Linked DNA regions of Homo sapiens: all the other regions are linked to region 6. The links are contacts of gene promoters, found by promoter capture Hi-C in blood cells and fetal thymus (Javierre and others, 2016). All regions are on one chromosome and are shown on one strand. The core of a region is centred on a gene start or on the middle of the fragment in contact, and the rest is flanking DNA. Distances in the headings are between cores, read along the strand shown.

Evidence for each region. Contacts are between HindIII fragments. The CHiCAGO score rates a contact against its expected background, and 5 or more counts as called.
Region 1: a fragment that was not itself captured here is called in contact with the fragment with the promoter of CSNK1A1L in region 6 in 1 of 17 cell types (activated CD4 T cells); the score reaches 5.4 in activated CD4 T cells.
Region 2: a fragment that was not itself captured here is called in contact with the fragment with the promoter of CSNK1A1L in region 6 in 1 of 17 cell types (total B cells); the score reaches 9.2 in total B cells.
Region 3: a fragment that was not itself captured here is called in contact with the fragment with the promoter of CSNK1A1L in region 6 in 1 of 17 cell types (non-activated CD4 T cells); the score reaches 5.4 in non-activated CD4 T cells.
Region 4: a contact is called between a fragment that was not itself captured here and the fragment with the promoter of CSNK1A1L in region 6, in 1 of 17 cell types (total B cells). The highest score is 5.8, in total B cells.
Region 5: a fragment that was not itself captured here is called in contact with the fragment with the promoter of CSNK1A1L in region 6 in 6 of 17 cell types (M2 macrophages, megakaryocytes, total B cells and 3 more); the score reaches 9.7 in M2 macrophages.

Annotation. Positions count from the first base shown.
Region 1 is chr13:38,918,724-38,922,275 of GRCh38, forward strand. It overlaps the pseudogene ANKRD26P2. Among named protein-coding and RNA genes, the nearest start is that of STOML3, 70 kb to the right of the region's middle. RefSeq lists an enhancer at 2,233-3,432. The HindIII fragment of the contact is 3,143 bases long and covers 545-3,552 here.
Region 2 is chr13:38,875,152-38,878,491 of GRCh38, forward strand. FREM2 (FRAS1 related extracellular matrix 2) reads left to right here. Exons shown (of 24, transcript NM_207361.6): 19 at 871-998; 20 at 1,097-1,231; 21 at 1,966-2,092; 22 at 2,983-3,170. Among named protein-coding and RNA genes, the nearest start is that of FREM2-AS1, 49 kb to the left of the region's middle. The HindIII fragment of the contact is 5,751 bases long and covers 1-3,340 here.
Region 3 is chr13:38,586,159-38,589,560 of GRCh38, forward strand. All of the region lies in intron 2 of LINC00437 (long intergenic non-protein coding RNA 437), which reads right to left. Among named protein-coding and RNA genes, the nearest start is that of LINC00366, 20 kb to the left of the region's middle. The HindIII fragment of the contact is 3,987 bases long and covers 1-3,402 here.
Region 4 is chr13:38,857,375-38,860,849 of GRCh38, forward strand. It overlaps FREM2 (FRAS1 related extracellular matrix 2), which reads left to right. Exons shown (of 24, transcript NM_207361.6): 13 at 501-659; 14 at 1,913-2,216. Among named protein-coding and RNA genes, the nearest start is that of FREM2-AS1, 32 kb to the left of the region's middle. The HindIII fragment of the contact is 2,887 bases long and covers 1-2,706 here.
Region 5 is chr13:38,528,324-38,531,746 of GRCh38, forward strand. No RefSeq gene overlaps it. Among named protein-coding and RNA genes, the nearest start is that of LINC00366, 38 kb to the right of the region's middle. The HindIII fragment of the contact is 1,038 bases long and covers 1,020-2,057 here.
Region 6 is chr13:37,103,813-37,107,258 of GRCh38, forward strand. CSNK1A1L (casein kinase 1 alpha 1 like) reads right to left here and starts at 1,852. Exons shown (of 1, transcript NM_145203.6): 1 at 1-1,852. The coding sequence starts at 1,444. The coding sequence ends at 431. The HindIII fragment of the contact is 4,821 bases long and covers 1-3,446 here.

The DNA of each region.
Region 1 (3,552 bases), core at 866-3,365, 1.8 Mb after region 6:
GTGTTTTGTAGTTCTCTTAGTAGAGATTCTTCACTTCCTTACTTAGATGTATTCCTAAGTACTTTTTTATGGCTATTGTAAGTGAGATTGCATTCTTGATTTGGCTCTGAGTTTGAATGTTACTGGTATATATCAATGCTACTAATTTTTGTGCATTGATTTTGTATCCTGAAACTCTGCTGAAATTGAAATTATTTGCCAGTTCTGGGAGCCTTTTGGCAGAGTCTTTAGGGTTCTCTAGGTATAGAATCATATCATCAGTAAAGAGAGAGAGTTTGACTTCCTCTTTTCCTATTTGGATGCATTTTATTTCTTTCTCTTGCCTGATTGCTCCAACTTGGACTTATAGTACTATGTAGAATAGGAGTGGTGAGAGAGGACATCCTTGTATTACTCTAAAAGGAATGCTTCCAGCTTTTGCCCATTCAGCATGATGTTGGCAAATAAATTTGTCATAGATTGCTCTTATTAGTTTGAGGTTTGTTCCTTTGATGTCTAGATTGTTGAGGATTTTTATCATGAAGGGATGCTTGATTTTATCAAAAGCTTTGTCCACATCTATGGATATAATCATGTGGTTTATGGTTTTAATTCTGTTTATATGGTGAATCACATTTATTGATTTGCATTTGTTGAGCCAACCTTGCATCTCAGGAATAAAGTCTACTTAATCACAGTGAAATAACTTTTTGATGTGCTGCTGGATTCAGTAGTATTTGGTTGAGGACTTTTGCATCTATGTTCACCAGAGATATTGACCTGTAGTTTTCTTTTCTCGCTATGTCTTTGCCAGGTTTTGGTATCATGTTGACACTGTCTTTATAGAATGAGTTAGGGAGGAGTCCCACCTCCTTGATTTTTTTGGATTAGGTTCAGCAGAATTGGCACCGGCTCTTCTTTGTACAACTGGTAGAATTCAGCTGTGAATCCATCAGGTTTGAGGCTGTTTTCATGGGGGCTTTTTAAGGTTTTCTATTGCTGATTCAATTTTGGAACTCAATATTGGTCTGTTCAGGGTTTCAATTTCTTCCTGATTCAATCTTGGGAGGTTGTAGGTTTCCAGGAATTTACCCATTCCCTCTAGATATTTTAGTTCGTGTGCACAGAGGTCTTCATAATAGTTTCTGAGGATCTTTTGTATTCCTGTGGGATTGGTTGTAATGTCATCTTTGTCATTTCTGATTGTGCTGATTTGGATCTTCTTTTATCTTTGCTCATCTAGCTGGTTGTCTATTGATTTTGTATCCTTTCAAAGACCCAACTTTTGGTTTCATTAATTATTTGTATGGATTTTTGGGTCTCCATTTGCATTCAGTTCTGCTCTAATTTTATTTCTTTCTTTTCTTCTGCTAGCTTTGGGGTTAGTTTGTTCTTATTTTCCTAGTTCCTCTAAGTGTGATGTTATATTGTTAATTTGAGATCTTTCTAACTTTTTGATGTAGGTGTTTAGTGCTGCAGACTTTCCTCTTAATACTCCTTTTCCTGCATCCCAGTGATTTTGGTATGTTGTATCTTTGTTATAATTTACTTCATATAATGTTTTTTATTTCTACTTAATTTTATTGTTTACCCAAAAGTCATTCGGGAGCAAGTTTTTTCATTTTCATATAATTGTGTAGTTTTGAGAGCTCATCCTGGTACTAATTTCTATTTTTATTCCATTGTGGTCTGAGAGTGTGGTTGGTATGATATGGATTTTTTCTAATTTCTTGAGACTTGCTTTACGAGCAAACATGTGTTTGATCTTAGAGAATGTTTTGTGTGCAGAAACAAAAAATATATATTCTGTAGTTGATGAATTGAGTATTCTGTAGATGTCTATTATGTTCAGTTTATCAGGTATCCAATTTTGGTCCAGAATTTCTTTGTTGGTTTCCTGCCTCGATGATCTAATACTCTCTGTTAGTGGGGTGTTGAAGTTCTCCACTATTTATTGTGTGGTTGTACAAGTCTTTTTGTAGGTCTAGAAGTTCTCATTTTATGAATGTGGGTGCTCCAGTGTTGGGTGCATATATATTTCGAATAGTTAAGTCTTCTTGTTGAATTAAACCCTTTATCATTATGTAATGCCCTTCTTTGTCCTTTCTTACTGTTGTTGGTTTAAAGTCTGCTTTACCAAAGAATCACAACCCCTGCCTTTTTGGTGTTCTGTTTGCATAATAGCTCTTTCACCAACCCTTTACTTCAAGCCTATAGGTGTCATTATATGTGAGATGGGTCTCTTGAAGGCAACAAACAGACGGGTCTTGATTTTTTTTCATCCAGTTTGCTACTCTGTACCTTTTAAGTGAGGGCATTTATACTGTTGACATTAAAGGTTAATATTGGTTTCTGAGGTTTTGATCCTATGGCGAAGCTGATAGCTGGTTGCTTTGTCATTTCTATTGCATGGTTATTTTATGCGGTCTGTGAGCTATGTAACTTGTGTGTTTTTGTGTTAGCACACAAAACACATGCTCCACAACAATCTCTGCAAAGGAAGGGTGGGATGGCTCAGCTTACTGGTCCTGGCAAGCAGGTGCTCTGACTGCCTGGAGATATGCCTGGGCATGAAGTAGAGAGGGCCTTGCTGTACCACAATCTCTGTACAGGAAAGGTGTGACAATTCAGGCTGCTGAACCAGGTGAATGGATTCTCTGAATGCCTGGAGAGATTTGCCTGGGCTTGAACCAGGGAGGACTCCTCTCGCACCAGGATCTCTGCACAAAAAGGATGGGGTGGCTTAGGCTATTGCTCCAGGAAAGTGGGTGCTCCAAATGCCTAGAGTTCAGCCTGGGGGGTGGAGCAAAGAGGGACCCACTGTACAACATCTCAGAGGAACAGGTTGGGGCACCCAGCAATGGCACATGCAGACCAGTTCCAGGTCACCAAGCTGGCCCTGGCTGCAAGTCTCATTGAACAGGAGAAACTGCAGAACCCTCTTCATCCCAAACCCAGGCATATCACCAGGCGGCTCTCTTCCTATCCCAGACCTGTGATGGAGGAAAATACAATTCCAGTGCCTACTACTGAGGTGCTTTCCACAATTACCCCAGTGTGGAAACCCCTACCCTTCTCCAGAGCAAGCATGAGAATCTCTGGCCCAGACGAAAATGCCTGAACAGCCATACTGCCAGGTTCCCAAAGAATGTCTGACCCTGTACTCACCCAGATTAAAAATGGTGTCCTGCTCTTGGTCCTGGATCTGGGAAAATATCTGCAGTTTTCCTTGTGTTTCCCTCCCAGCATCTCCAAGCCTCCCCTCAAGTTAGCTGCAGAGTTTGGGAGAAACAAAATGCTCTCCCTTGGCCTGGGTTGCTCAGATCCCCAGTGGAAAGACGAGTCACAGACAGAAGCTCTTTGCCTCTCTCAGGTACTGGAGCTTCGCTCACTTTTATCAGCTGGATACCATCGCGGGGGCGGTTTGCCTGCATTCTTCTCCCTGAGATCTGGGGTGTCCTTCACAATTCCAGTGGATTCCCCTTTTCCTAAGTGAATTAAAGCTCAGGGAGTTGGTCTCTATGCATCATTTTGCTATTTCCAAGTAACTGAGACATGCTAAAAATCATCTGC
Region 2 (3,340 bases), core at 544-3,043, 1.8 Mb after region 6:
TTTTTGTTTTTTTTTAACAAGGACATTTCACTAGAAAGAGCTTATTTTTTATTTGACTCTCCATATTACCAGTTTAGTAACATGGAGAGTCAAATAAAAAATAAGCCATTTTTCTGCCAGCTTATATTAGATTGGGAAAGGGAAAATAGTTCACTCAACATCTTTATAGCTTTTCTTTTTCTGGACTTGAACTCTAACAAAAGAGAATAGGGCTGAATAATTAGGAAGAGAAAGAGGCTTCATTGTATTTTTATGGAACTGAGCTACAAGAAAGAAAGAACCCAAAAAAATCATTTTGCTTTATTGTATTTGACAGTTCTGGAAAATGAGGATTTTCTGGTCTATACAGTTTTCTTCTACATGCCTACCTTTCTAATAAACTGAATCTTTGTGTAGCCATGATTGCAGGCAATCTAACTAAAATCAGACTCCATTCATAAATTGGGTTTGCCCAGCTGTGTGGATACTAATAGACTATTTTAAGTTCAGCTCGTAACTTCAGTGCACAATAAATGCATTCACATCACCCTTTATTGTGCTGCTGTGACTCCCCAGAAAGTAGCTCTGAACAATTTGAGCATTTCTGTACAATTATCTTTTGACAAAACTATAGAGCAGAAACAGTACTGAAGTAGGAATCAGAAAGTCACATCCTAGCTGTGTGATCTTTGGAAAGTCACACAGTCACTCACAGCCCAGTTTCTTCATCTGCCAGAGGAGGATAATTATACTAACCATGACTGCTTTGCAGCCTTCTTATAAAAACAGAAGCAAATAATGTATGATCATTTATTTTGAAAACTCTAAACTGTTATGCACTCTTTTAATTGAACCACTATATCATTATTATAATTACTGGCACTTTCCTAGCATCCTTTACAAGCTCAGTGATCATGTCAGCTGATCATCCAGGCCTGACATTTTCCCTCCGCCTCATAAGGAGTGAACCAACCTATAACCAGCCAGTACAGCAGTGGAGCTTTGTCTCTGACTTTGCCGTAAGTGACTAAGACTCTTAATTAATTTTCTTCTGCTGCTGCCATCTGATTACACCTCAGATTTTTAAATGTAATATATCAATATCTTCTCCTCAAAGGTACGTGACTACTCAGGGACCTATACTGTGAAGCTGGTGCCATGCACTGCCCCATCACATCAGGAATACCGCCTGCCAGTCACCTGCAACCCCAGAGAACCTGTCACCTTTGACCTTGACATCCGATTCCAACAGGTGTGGCTTATAGAATTACTATCTTATGACTTGCAGAATCCCACTTTGTTTTTCATTTATTAGTAAAAAAAAAAAAAATCCACACGTGAATGACTTTAATTCTTGCATGCTGAAAAGAAAAGAAATCAGACAGTTAAGGAAGCTAGGGATAAAAGAATGAGGAGAGATTTGCCCTTTATCTGTTGTTAGTACAGGATGTAAAATTCAGAGTTTAAATGTATGCAATGGTTATTTTTTTCTTATCTGATCTTATCTTGTGTCCTCCTGAAGTTTGCTGTCTTGGAGATTTGAGAATTTTCCCCGCACTTCTGCATTTCTTTTCTTGTTCTTCTCTAAAGAGAATGAAATCCTGTAGCTCAAACCACCTCAAAGTACCTAATTGCCATTATGTATTATAAAAAATGTGATGGCATCTTTTTTTCAAGAATTTTTACTGTTGGCCTTCTACTGACAATGATATTTACAAGTCCTTTATATACCCCAATAAACCAGTGGAAATGAGCTCAAGCAATGCTGTTTAGTCCCATTCAAAAAATGACTTGATCCCACCAGTTTTGCCTTCTCAAGGACAAAAGCAATGTTACAACTCTCTGAGTTAGCTTGGTAGGGTGTGAAAATTGCGATGCAGTGTTTAGTGTTCTACAGTGTACGGTGAATGTATGTATCTGTGAACAGTATGTTTGTGCACCATCAGAACCACTGATGCATAAAAGAACTTTTACCTTTGGTTTTAGGTCAGTGATCCAGTGGCTGCTGAGTTTAGCTTGAACACCCAAATGTACCTGCTCTCTAAGAAGAGTCTCTGGTTGTCTGATGGATCCATGGGATTCGGGCAAGAGAGTGATGTTGCTTTTGCAGAAGGTATCACTTTACAAATGAGAGGGATGCTCTGTTTGTCATGTATATCTTTTGTGCTTTGCTTTTTGGGGATTGTGTTTGAGGGGGCAAATTATAGCTTTTTTTATGGTTTTGAGAATGTAACTGGGTCTTTACCCACTCTGGCTGGTGTGGGAAGTCGTTGCGATTGGGTATATGTAACTGGGTATCTTTTTTTTCTGAGGAAGCTAATCTCTAGCTGTCTTACCTAAGTGACTTTTGGAACAAGTCTAGATGATTTTCTCGAATGTTTTTTTTCAATCTGTGTAAACTTAAATGCTGCAGCTACATGAGACTGTAAATGCCTCTCAGGCAAAGATTGTGCCTGCCTTACTCAATGGTGTATATTCAGCACCCAGCACACATACCTAGCAGAAATACCTGGCACTCATGGTAGGGGTTCAATAATAGTTATGAAATAAAGAATTGAACACCAGGGGGTTTCATTAAACCCTCTTTCAGAAACAAATAACGTTAATTAGGCTTTGTATTGATACTTTCTTTCTTAGTGTTATTCTATATTGTATCAGTATATATCTTATCAACTTATTTTTGTAAACTGGACTTGGACCACAATGGGATATTATTAATGCCAAATTATAGGCCAGATCTTTGAAATTATTCACACTAGTGGCTGAGCATCTGAGACTCAATAAATCTTTAGTCACTTCTGGTCAGTCTGCAAAGTGGTCTTACCTGAGGCCTGAGAATGTACCAGATCTTGAAGCTCATGCAAACAGGCCTTCAACATTTGATAGTAGATGAGGGTGGCAAGGAAATAATCTCTGTGTCCTCATTGTCATAACCTGTTTACAGTGTCACGTTGATATACCTTATCATATAACAGAAATAACATTTCCACATCTCTATTTCAGGTGATATAATTTATGGTCGTGTCATGGTGGATCCTGTCCAGAATCTGGGTGACTCCTTTTACTGCAGCATTGAGAAGGTGTTTCTATGCACTGGAGCTGATGGCTATGTTCCCAAGTATAGTCCAATGAATGCAGAATATGGCTGCTTAGCCGACTCTCCTTCACTCTTATATAGATTTAAAATTGTGGTAAGTGCTTTGACCCAAAAAATGAGCTAGATAGATTTTTCAAAGTTCAGCCTCCTTGTCTTATATTTAAAAACAAGGCTGGGCACAGTGGCCACACTATAGTCCCAGCACTTTGGGAGGCCAAGGTAGAAGGATCACTTGAAGCCAGGATTTCAAGACCAGCCTGGGCA
Region 3 (3,402 bases), core at 729-3,228, 1.5 Mb after region 6:
AATGCAATACAAGATTAAAAGAGAAATCGTTGAAAATACAATTTCTTTTTTTTTTAATAAAGAAAAAAGGTTTAATTGACTCACAGTTCCACATGGCTGGGGAGGCCTCAGGAAACTTACAATCATAATGGAAGGCACTTCTTCACAGGGCAGCAGGAGAGAGAATGAGAGTTGAGCAAAAAGGAAAGCCCTTTATAAAACCATCAGATCTCATGAGAACTCACCCACTATCACAAGAATAGTAGGGGGAAAACCACCCTCATGATTTAATTATCTCCACCTGGTCTGGCCCTTGACATGTGGGGATTATTACAATTGAAGGTGGGATTTGGGTGGGGACACAGAGCCAAACCAGATAAAATATTTTTAGTTATACAAAAGTTTTGAATGAGAATGAAAATGGCTTATTTGTGTTTCCTTGGCTTTAACCACATGCTGATTGTACTTCAGGAAGAGTCTCTAAAATTGTAAAAAAGAAACTTCAAAAACACGCTCAAATGGTTTCTACTCTGCCAAAATTGCTGGGCTTTAGATTATCCAAAATGAAACTTGCATTTCTGGCCATGGATGATTTGACTGAGGATTCATGCCTTCATTGCCTAAGGCAATTACAGATGGATTTGGTACTAGAGAAGACATCCACTTCCACCTAGTCTGTTTGAAACCCCATGCAATAGGAGGGCCTCTTGTGAACAAATCAAATCCTCTTTTTAAGGAAATAAAAATTATCGATGAAAATGGAGATACGTCTCCTTTGGTCTGGCCATTATGCGAAATAAAACTCAGTAAACTTATCACCTGTTCAAGGTAGCACTTATTTGCTCCCTTGTAGCTGTCAGATAGCTGCACAAAATTTAAAAAATATATTTTACTGAGGTTTTCTAGTTTTTCCCAGTGTGAAGAAATGGCCTGTAACAAGCTAGTCTTAACACTACCAGCAATGGACATTCTGTCATAGGTGTTTGTTTTTTAAGTAAAAAAAAAAAAAAAAAAAAAAAAAAGAAAGTAAAATGATACAAAATTGAAATCCAGCTTTGTCATCTGTTAAGTTCGAAAATTTTTGTGTATTTCTTAGTAAATCCTCCAGTTTATTTGTTTAATCAGGATAAAATTACAACATTTTACATATCATATTTTATTATGTCTTGATTCTTTAATATAACATATATTCACATTTTATACTTATTTACTGTATTCATCTTTTCTTTAAGGTCCTTTGAAATTTCATATTTTTTTATTTTTTATTTTTTATTTTTTTGAGATGAGGGCTTGCTATGTTGCCCAAGGCTGATCTCAAACTCCCGGGGTCAAACACTCCTCTTGCCTCAGCTCTTGAGTAGCTGAGACTAGAGGAGTGCACCACCATGCCTGGCTCCATACAAATATTATAGCTGTCAATTTTTTTGAAAATATCTTTGCAACTTTACTTGGAATCACTTGAATGTACACATTGATTAAAATAGAGGTGATTTTCTGAGAATACAATTTCTAAATAGAAAATGGGAGGATTATGAATAATTTTAGTATATTATCACATTCATAAAGAGTATCACTGACTAATATAATTATCTTAGAGCTGATTTATGACTAGGTCCATCCATTGATAGAACTCAGGATAAAAGAAACATATTTTGAATAGTTTTTGCTTGTTGAATTATGGGCTTATTTGTTCCTTGTGCTGTCCATGCATTTATATGGCACATCATGTAAAGAACATGGCATCTGGAGTCAGGCAGCCTAGAAGTGAGTTCCAGCTCTGACCACTGGTTATGATGTTGTAAGGGGAAAAAAAATCACTTCTTGTGGCTATATTTTCATCTAAAAGTTACAGTAAAATTTCACACTACTTAATAGTTAAGACTGTGGTTTTAGAGTTAGAAAAACTTGAGTTTTAATTCCAGCTGTGTTTCATCCCAGCTGTGTGACAGTGGCCAAATACTCAACCTGTCAATGCTTTAATTTCTCCATTTGTAAAGTGAGAATAATACATAATAACTATATAATAACAATTTTAAATGACAGGATAACAGTGAGACTTGAATGCAACACTGCATATGAAATTCTTAGCACATTATTATGCAGACTAAAAAATTTTAAAAAGTTAACTCTTTTTGGATTACCTTGTGGCCTAAGGGATAGCACTGCACGCTATGGCCACTCAAATGCTAATTTAGCATTGGTGTGATTACAACAGCATTCCAACAATATCACATATGTACACAAAACATATACTTTATATTCACCAACCATCAAGATCAAGAGGTAAAGCTAAAAAGTATATTTACAAGAAATACAGTGGCTCATTAATTCTTAACTTAGGGAATGTCCTAGTTCATTACTTAAAAATAAAAATAAAAGCACACAAGCAAGTTCACAAGGATTTTAAGTAGGGCAACCTCCACGTCAATTTCTCTTAAAGTAAGGTGGGTGGGGGCAGCTGCCCACACATCTACAGTATAGAAAGCCTATTTGCTTTAACAACAGAGGCTTTCCCCTAACACTCTCTACTCAGAGAAGCCCCTCTACCAGTCATCATAGAAGACCAGCCATTTAGAAATTAAGACCTTAGAAAATGATTTGTCAATCTTATCTTAATATTCATATAGTATTCATCTTCCATTTCTCAGTCTCAATTAACCTTCATTATTCATAGCCTTGCTTAACTACTTAATATTCTCAAGACCACATGTACTTTGGACATTTCCCCCCTCTACCTAGAACATTGTCCCCTCTTCACTACCCACCACCACATGCCCATCTGACTCATGACCTCCTATATATAATCAAACTTTTCCTTTAAATTTCACCTCTTCCTGCTTGCTTTCCTTGGTTCCCACAGGGGAAATTAAGAACTTAATCATCTGTCTTTAATGCTACCTATGTAGCTCAGCTATATTTCTTCTTGAATTTTGTTTTGTGTTTCGGCATGTCTTTGTTCCCTCACCAGACTATAAACTAGGGGATAAGGGGCTCCTGCCTATTCATTTTTGTATTTATGTTTGTTTACTTGTCTATTTTTTCTTTGAAGTATGTGAACTACTTACTTCATCAACATTATTAAAGTTGAATTTTCTCCTGCATGCATTTTAATACACAGCCACGTGTGGCATAATGACGTTTTGGTCAAAGAAGAACCATGGGCCGGGCACGGTGGCTCACGCCTGTAATCCCAACATTTTGGGAAGCTGAGGCAGGCAGATCACGAGGTCAGGAGATTGAGAACATCCTGGCCAAAATGGTGAAACCCCGTATCTACTAAAAATACAAAAATTGGCTGGGCATGGTGGTGCACACCTGTTGTCCCAGCTACTAGGGAGCCTGAGGCAGCAGAATCACTTGAACCCAGGATGCGGAGGTTGCAGTGAGTCGAGATTGCACCACTGCACTCCAGCCTGGTGACAG
Region 4 (3,475 bases), core at 13-2,512, 1.8 Mb after region 6:
TTCAGGCAGTGCCTTCTGCCCTTGGCTGCTTCAAAGAGTTTCTTATTACTGGCATCTGCTTCATCCAGGCTCACACTATCCCATGACCTCTGTGATATTCCTTCCTTCAGAATGTCCTCCAGCTTTACTCCCACTGTCAAAGAATTGACTCCTTCATAAAATTTCCCTTCACAACCCCAAGACACATTTAGCTACTGTCATCACAACTGGAGAAAAAAAAATAAATTAGAGCCCAAACACCTCATGGGCCGCTGGCCAACCTTTGGATTGACTGCCCTGGGCTCAGCTGCCCTCCCTGGAACCATAAGATGTGAACAAGGTGCCAAGGTCATGTGCTGCAGGCCACTTAGGGCCTGTTGCTCTCCAGGGGCTCTGAGTATGACAATTTGCATCATAACGAGGCCATGGGGTTGCCAGGGATCGTGAGTATTGTTCTGTGTGGTAGAAGCATCAAAAGTTTAATATTTCACTAATCAGTGATAATTGTCTTTTCCTTCTAGTTGACGAAAGCCATTGTGTACATAGAAGAAATGAGCAGCATGGCAGATGTCACTTTTCCTTCTGTCCCTCAAATTGTATCCCTGTTGATGTATGACGACACTTCCAAAGCTAAGGAGAGTGCTGAACCCATGTCTGGCTATCCTGTCATCTGTATCACAGTGAGTAGGAGATTCACAAAATTGAGGAAAATTGTAAGATAATTATTTCAAATAATTATAATCAATATAGCATTGGCTTTGTTATGAAGAAATGAAAGTAGAAAAATACTACATGGTTTAAGCCTTGAGCTTTGCATATATAACACTAATCAAATAAAGCTCCCATTTTTCTTTCTTCACCGAACAAAGGTTCATTAACTGATGTGTACATAGTGTGTTATCTCAGTCTGTCACCAATAGAAAAATAAATAAGATATGAAGTCTGCATTCAAGATATTTAGAGATGAAGAAAAGAATATAGGAATTGGTAACTCTAATATAAGGCAAGATATAACCACTATCATGAAAATGATACAAATTAGAAGTCAGAGCTGCAGCTCCATATATGAGGGGAGGTTTGGGATGGTCAGGTGGAATTTTGACTCTTTAGGATGCAAGTCTGATAAGGGAAGGTCATTCTAGGAAGAAGGGACTGCAACGTGAGCTACAGCTAGAAAAAAATAGCATAAGAAATAGCAAATTATCACTACTTTCAAAATTTGCCTTTTCTTGACTCTAAGTTTAAGCTCCTTGTGAGCTAAAATTATGACTTACTTATGTTTATATTACAACAGCACTTCTAAAATCACTTATACAATACATGTTTATTGAGTCAACAAGGCAGAGATAATTTGGCGTCAAAGTATAGGGAGTTTTAAATGTCATATTAAGAAATTTGGACTTCATTTGTTGGGTAGCGAAGAGTTCTCACATGGAAGAATGATCAGAGGGGTTAAACTGGCAGGTTAACAGGGCAGTCGTGTGTCAGTGGACTGGAAGAAAAGATGCTGAATTAGACAGAGAAGTGCTGCTGGAAATGGAAAGGAAGGCATCAACTTAAGCAATACTGTTAAAGAAGAATCAGCCGAGTTCATGACTTACTGGATAAGGGGGGTAAGATGAGCGACAGGAAGCGGGGGAGGAAAAAAGAGAGAATAAGGATAACTGGCAAATCTGATGATTCAAGAGATTATGGTATAAATAACAATTTTACACATATTAAGTTAGAAATAGAAACATCCAATAAGCTGTTTGAAATGCAAGATTATGTTTATAAATGTTATCATGCCTGGGGATCAAAATTCGGAAGCTGTATAAACAGCATGTGGAAATTGGGGAAAGCAGCAGTGAAAACTCGATGGCAGAGAACGGGAGAAGAATGCGTTCCACCTGTTCTACACTCTGTTCCTAACACAGTCATTTGTTTTCCGTAGGCTTGCAACCCCAAATATTCAGACTACGATAAAACAGGCTCTATCTGTGCAAGTGAGAACATCAATGACACTTTGACGCGGTACCGGTGGCTGATTAGTGCACCTGCGGGCCCTGACGGTGTGACCAGCCCTATGAGAGAAGTGGACTTCGACACCTTTTTTACGTCATCCAAGATGGTCACACTGGACTCCATATACTTTCAGCCTGGCTCCCGGGTACAGTGCGCAGCTCGTGCTGTGAACACCAATGGGGATGAAGGCCTGGAGCTCATGAGCCCTATTGTAACCATCAGCAGAGAAGAAGGTCAGTCATTGCCATTTTCCCCTGAAGATCACTGGAATACTGTGCAATATTACAAATGTCTACTTTCTGGTTATTAATACTTCCAATGTCCCACATATTCCATATATTTTGTAAGTAGTGAAAAATTAAAATCTATTTTTACAAAATTATGTATTAGAAAACAAAATATTTATTCATTCTACCTTTAAGTATCTATTATATGCCAGACACAATGCTTTGTGCTGGCAATAAAATAAAGAAGACAGGATCCCTGCTTTTGAGGAATTCTTGGTCCAGTTGAAGATGCAGACACATTTTAGTCTAGACAGGGCACAGGAATGCACAGGTAGAAGTGATTAGTTTTACCCTGAGTGGGTCAGGAAAGGCTTATCAAAGAGGGGAGGCTCAAGCTGAATCTGAAAAGAGTAGAGGAAAACAAGCATGAGCAACAACTCATAAAAGCAAGAAAGAATGCGGGATATTGTGGGAATGGCAAGCAGAGAAATGGGGAAGCTTCTGAGAGGGAGAGGAGGAAAAACCAGGAGACAAGGCAAAATGGTATGCAAGGCTCAGATCTGAACAGAGCTCATGCCATGCAAGGAAACCAGCTGGTTGTTGGGTGAGTAGGATTTTGCTGGGGACGGGAGGGGAAGGGCAGTCCAGATAGAGGGGTACGTGCAAATTAACACCTTGGTATTACAAGAGAGACTGTATTTAAGGCTGGAGCAAAGACACATTGGGGATGGAGAATAGGATGTGGCTGGGGACAACATTGGAAAGACAGGAAATCCACTGTATAAATAAATCCTTCACTCTGCAGAATAATTTTTAATGAGATTTTTCTTAAAAACGGTTGTATATATTTGATTCTATTTCTAAATCATCTATTTGCACACCGCATTCAAAAGTAAATTTACTGCATAGAGGTCATATGTCCCACCTGTGACTACTATATATTCAGGATCAAATATTTAAATAATGCCTTAAAATGATTCTCTCTTTTAATAAATCAGACAGCCTCTATGCTGGGGCCTGACTCTGATTTCCTTGCTATTCTAATACATATTTGTCTATTTTCTCTGTTTTATACAAATAGATAAGTAATTGTATCTTTCCAAGTTCTCCTGAAATTATAATTCAGCGTCTTGGTTCCTTTCATGATGTTCAAATAGAAACCCCACTATTTTCCTAAAGGAAATACTGGAGAAAGAGTTTCATGTCCAAATTCTTGAAGGTCACTGGGAGATATGAGACAGAAAGAGATGAATATAAAATGGATT
Region 5 (3,423 bases), core at 289-2,788, 1.4 Mb after region 6:
CCCTTGAAATCAGGTTTCATTTATTGAAAAAAGGAAATGAGATTCTTGGGAAGCTAGAAGGATACTCATTTTCAAATCAGATTCAATGAACACAAATCTCAAACGGAAGCACTATACAATTCAAAAATAATACTGAGGTGTTTAAGGAAACACCTGGAACCTGCTTTTGGAGGAGTCAATCAGAATGCTTTGCATTGTAGAGGAAGAAGGATTCTCCAAGAGAAAATCCACACTCCTGCACCTCATGGCAAGTACTGTGTACAAAAAGCTGTATGCACTGCCCAAAGAAAGAGGAAAAATCTCAGGGGCTTCCACTCATTCCTGAACAATCTACAAAGCATGAGAATGATAGTTGCTATTGTTGTTCCTTTCTTCTTCCCTCCATCCCTCCCTCCTTCTCTCCTTCCTTTCTTCCTTCCTTCATTCCTTCCTTCTTTTCCTTTCTTTCCTTTGACTTGTTCATTCATTTGCTTTTAGACTCACTGTGTTAGAGATCAGTTATAGAATTAGTTAATAGAATTGATATTCAATTAATAGATTCAATATAAATTAATGAAAACTACATTTTACACTTAAAATAAGTTCAATAAAATTATATATGATTTTGTAAGATTTTGATATAAAATTTTATATTTTCTCATCAAAGAACAGGTGAAAAGAAAATACTTTATGTTTATTTACATTTCTCTTTTTCTTATCTAATTAGCTCTGCTAAAGATTTTGTACGTATCTTAGTCTTGTCCCACATTATCTTTGCTGACTCTTGCTTTTTTATTTCAAGGTCTTTCCTCAGACTCTGCTCAGGAACTCGCTCAAAGTTCAATTTAAGAGTCTACTGTAGAGATTTGCATCCTTTGATTCCATCCAGCATTAGTCACCTGCTTTAATTGCCACATGACAATGCTTTGCCACTGGCTGCTCAAAGCTGTGTCTCTTCTGACCAACCTGGTGTTTGATCTGTTCCCCTTTGATTTGCACAATTCATTAAAATTTTATATTCTACAGTAATGTTGATAGTAAGCTTTAAATTCCTTTTGCTAAGAAATATAACCTCAAAATCACAAATATCTCACCATTATGTGTTATTGAATAACAACAGAATTTGACTTTGATTGATGTGAGTTGGAAAAAAAATCGGCATTTTACAGAATCAGCAGGAGGCCTCGTAACATATGCTTTATGTTACATAGCTGAGAACAAAAGCCTAAATCATACACAGAATTTATCTGATGAGGAAACATAAATATTTCAGTGTGCATTGTGGGCCCTAATGCTCTGAGAATTATCACTGTAACATAGACTCATGACTTTACGCTTCTCTGGCCCCAGTGAGCTCCCAATCCCACTTGTGGAACAGGTGAATGTGATTATTAGAGTTTCCATGCCTAGTGCAAAGAAGGATGGAAAAATGAGCATCTCTAATTTTCTGTTTCTATAAGGTTGATTCTGCTCCCTCTAAGACTCAGATCTCTTAATACTATTCCAAATATAGGCAGAGAATGCAAATACTGAGCAGTCAAAAAAAAATGACAAATGTCTACTACAGCATCTGAGTTGAAAATTCTTGCCATATCGTACAGAATCAAAAATGCCAATACACTGCCAGACTACCCAGTTTCCCAAGTAGCATAAACATGGATTCTTATTTAGCCATGTTCTTGGCCAGTTTCCCACGGGACACACACACACATACACACATACATAACACAAGGAAAATGAAATCACAAAGATACTTGCTCCTAAACTGCAACTGGAGCATGAATTTGTCTAAATGCTTAACTATTCCATGAAAAATAAAATATGACTAGATATTAATCAATTGGGAGTATTTTTAGTATGATTTTTGTTCATCTTGTTTTTTTGCTTGCTAATGACAGTTTTGTATGCCACTTCAGGTTAATTTTGAAAAATAAATACTGGATTAAATGCATTAATATACTCTTATAATCATAACCCTGGAAAGGGTCTTATTACTGTTGAATAAAATCAACAGAAATACGATGAGTTTATGAGTCATAACCTATGCAAAATACAAGGCACTTTTTTTAAATAGGAAAAGCTTAAATTGTTAGACATAACTAAGCAAGAGTATACAGTTTTAGTATGCATAAACCAGAAGTGTTACAATTTTATATCCATGAAGTAGGATATTGAATCATGAGCCCATATAAAAAGGAAAATTCAGTTATCATTTTCATTTTCTCTTCTTGTAAATATTCACATGGTACACTAAATTGTCATTTTGTTTTATTTTGTTTTAATTAAGGGATGTAGTCTCATTCTTTAATTTAACTGTGTTAAGCAAACCAAATAGTTGAAATAAATCCAATGCACCACCGTTGCCCGAAACCTCTACTGTTATATAGTACACCAGCACACTCTATTGGACACATAAGATAATAAATGTGGTCTCCAAAGCAACATTTTAATGTCATTAAATTCTGCTATTTATTTCATTGACAAAGTATTCTTTTTTATACTTACTTTATAGAATAAGCAGAAATTACATGATATTCATGGAGAAATTCAGGATTTTGATATAGACGAGAATAAGAAATGTAAAAATTATGGCCATTTTCTACATACGTAGAGCTTGACCCAATAAATTGCGGGACAATGGGATGAGGATTGAGAAATGCCTTCAGATCAGGAATCGTCTTGCAGAGCAGACAGACCAAAACTAAGAAATTACCCATTCAACCAACATTTTTTGAGTGCCCACTATCTGTAAGATGGGCTAATCCCGTGTGTACAAAAATGGCTAAGACATAGGTCTGCCCCAGCACTCTGAAAAAATTGTTAGAGCCAAAATATTTATAAAGTTTTTCTGGTCCTACATGAGCAAAATATGGATACAGCTCAATTTTTAGATGTCCAATGCCATAATTCTTGTGGCATATTTTGAGGAATTTAAAATTTTGTTCTCAGAAATAAGATAGAGAAGGTGTCAATTTAAGACCGTGGACTCTGGGGCACTTGTACCCACATCTGCCTGTGATTTTCTTTGGTACTTTAAGTAAAACGATTCTAGACTCATTTAATTATCTAGAAATTGTAAATGTCACTTAGGATGATAGTAAAACTGAGTTTTTTAGTGCTTATAATATGCTAAGCTTTTTTCTAAGGGCTTAGAATGTGTTTTCTCATTTCGTCCACACAGCAACCCTATCAAATATTACTATTTTTTCCCACTTTGCTGATGAAAAGACTGAGGCATGAAGAACTTAAACAAATATCTGAAGATTACACAGCTTTTTAAAATAAATGACAGAGTTCGGGTTAAAACCCAGGGTGTCTGATAGGAGGGCTCTTTCTCTTAGGGTACATCACAGGATATTTCTGTGATCAATTTATTTCATTCAAATGTGGGAAGGATAGCGAATGCTCCACAGCAGCTTTCAGGCTTTTAGAATATCAGGGATC
Region 6 (3,446 bases), core at 602-3,101:
AATGCTCAATCATAAGCATTTACAACCTTTGCAGCTGTGGCTGAATACTGTCCTTCTGAAATGATATCTCAAAGCAGTCTAGTTCAAAATAAAAGGTTTTAACAAAAAATTGGCATATGGACAATGTCTCCACCAATTCGTGTGTGTCAACCATTTAGTTAACTTTTCTACTTGAATAAATGCAATAGAAAACCAGACACCACGTTTCACTACCTCAGTTAATATTCACAATTACAGAGGCTACACTTTGGGATACAGCATCACCAACGCTCCCCAGAGTCAGTTTATATTGAAATAAAGTTTTTTACACCAACTAAATGGTTGTTCACAGCCACTAGCTGGTGTACATATGAACTACAATTTCTAGATGTGGGGAGAAACAAATGCTGCTCGAATCATCTGCTCTGCTTCTTCTGTTCCTCATTCACGCTTAGTTATCTTTCACATTATTCTTGTTTTTTTCAGTTTGCTTGCCTGTCTGGGTTTGGGCCTGCTGACCCTGCCCACTGGAAGAGGCTGCCTGCTGTGCTGCTTTCTGCTTTAACATCGTCCAATCAAATGTGTAGTCATATTGGTGGTTCAGGGTCCTGAAAAGAATGCGGAATAGCTGCCTCAGATACATGTAATCTGGGACTTCCTCAAAGCGCAGCCCACGACAGTAGTTCAAGTACATGGCGAATTCTGCAGGAAACCCCTTACATAAAACTTCAACAGGGGTGGACATCTTCTTCTCACTAATCTTTTCATATTTTTGTTTTTTTGTCATAGCCCTTAGTCCTTGCCACGGCAGGCTGGTTCTATTAAAATACATGAAAACGTAGCCTAAGGATTCCATGTCATCTCGGCGGCTCTGCTCAATACCAAGATGTGCATTGATGCTGGCATATCGGACAGTGCCAATGAGGTGTTTATCTTCTCTGTACGGTATGTGTTGCCTGGTCCTGTTGTCTCTGTACTTTTTGGCCAAACCAAAATCAATAAGGAACAACTTATTACAGTGACGCCCAGTACCCATCAGGAAGTTATCTGGTTTAATGTCTCGGTGTAGAAAATTCTTTGTATGCACGTATTCAATTCTGCTGATCATCTGGTCGGCTAACATAAGTACAGTTTTCATGGTGAACCTTCTTGAACAGAAATTAAAGAGGTCTTCGAGGCTGGGTCCCAGAAGGTCCATGACTAGCACATTGTTGTCTTTTTCCTGACCATACCAGTGCATGTGGGGGATGCCAACCCCACCTTGAAGAATCGTGTAGAGTTTGCTCTCATACAGCAACTGGGGGTGCTTGACCTTCTGAGATTCCAGCTTCACTGCTACGTCCTCGCCGTTGGTGGTGGTGATGCCCAGATAAACGTCTCCAAAGGAGCCAGACCCGATCTTCCGCACCAGTTTGTATTTCCCTCCCACAACGAGTTCGGCTTTGGAGCCGCTGTTGTTTGTCATCCTGAGAGGCAAAGATGGAGGCTGGGCTCAGCCCTGACCCCTCTAGGGGAGGATGGAGGCCTCCGGGGCCCACCGGCCCGCAAGGCTGAGGATGAGGGCTGCTGGAAATGGCCACCGAGGCGTTTCCCGGTGTTACAGGGCGTGGAGTCAGCCTGATCCCTGCAGCACACCAGGATTTCCGCCAGGCCACAGTTTGCGAGGGTTTCTCAAGGTTCCAGGCTGGGCCACCACCTCTTTCTCGGTGGCGGTCGCTGCCTCGCTGTCGTGGCGATGTCGTGGGCTGAGAAAGGGGGCACAGCGAGTTGGGGCAGCAGTACTGCTGCCACCGCTACCAACGGCTGTGGGCCAGAGGGCCCGGTCACGCCGCCGGCGCCGCCATTTTGTTCCTCCACCTCAGCCAACCACAAATCGAGAATTTTTGGAGAAGCTGTTATTGTCTGAGACCTCTGTTAGGTGTTCCACTCATCTCACTCCATTTAAGACAAACTTGCTAGTCTTGTAAGGTAGCTATTATTTTCCCTGATTTGTTGGGTAAGAAAGGCTGAGTCTCAGGTAAGCGGCCTAAGGTTGCAAGAGATTGTGGGCGAGCTGGAATTCAAAACTGCCTAGGCTTAACTCGAAGCTCACCTTCTTTCAACTTAATCGTGCAGAAATGGGAGGCTTTTATAACAAAGATTTTCTTGTTTTCGGGCCCAGTCATTGTCCCATCTACTTCCTTAGCCATCATGTCTCCCTGGGTTAATGCGAGTCGGGGTGCCACCTCTTGAGGTTTTTCTGTGTGATCTCAGTGGTTGCTTCTTTAATGAGTTTAGTCAACAAGAGTTACTTACTGCTAGTTAAATTGAAATGTCTTTTTTTTTTTTTTTAAAGCGATCCTTTTGAAATTTTTTCATAGAGTGCTTTGAATTTAAATAGGATTCCACAGAGACGTTCTGGCAAAACTGACTAAATGAAGGATTCAAGTAAAATTTAACCAAAATATGGAGAAGAAACAGAAGCCGGCAGTTCTGAGCATTTTCTCAGAAGAACTGGGGCCAGCACTAGCAGAAAAAGCGGTACCATTTCAATATTTTTATGAAAGTTCACATCACAAATAACAAAACCCGTGCGATTATTTTGTTTTATGAGGAGATGGGATAGGAACTGAGTATAATCCTAACGGGGCAGTAGCAACGAATTTGGGGGCCAATGGCAGAAAGGCAGGAGAGAGAGGTGCAGCTTTGAAAGCAGGTATTCTCACTTTACTGTCTCACATAAGTTAGTGCTGTTAACTTTTCTGACCTGCATCAATCTATGGCGAGAGAAGGAGCTGGTTTGAGACATAGACGGGCATAGAACATTATAAAGTGCTTTAAAACATTTTTAAAGTCCACTTCAGACAAATATGTGAGGTGGGTAGCGCAGTATATTACTTGGCTTTGCAGCAGGAACAACTCGCAAATCTCAGTGGCTTACAATGACAAAGTTTATTTATCATTCAGGTTTTATGTAAGCTGTAGATCAGCTGCATCTCTGCTTCCTGTGTCCTCTTTGTTCTAGAATGCAGGCTGAAAGAGCAGCCTCCTTAGGAGCATGCTGTTCTCATAATAAAAGGAGTGGCAAATGTTACATTCCACTGGGCAAAACACATCACATGGCCAGGTCCAAAGACAGTGGGGTGAAAATACATACTCCTACCTCAGGTGGATAGTAATACAGTATACTGCTGGCATATTTTATTATTATGATTGTACTTCTCATTTTATACAAGTGGAAATCAAGGCATAGAGAGGTTAGATGAATTGCCCAAGACCACACTACAGACAAGTGTCAGAGGCCAATTTGAAACTGAATTCTGACCCAAGGTAGTTACTTTTTATACCGTACCAACTAGAATGGCATTTCTTTCATTTACTCATCCAACTTTGTTGAAATTTGCCTGGAGAACAATTTCCTTTCTAATAACCAAGAATAAAATTTATGTTGTTAACCCACTGCCCATTATGCTTCCTTCCCGTTCAGT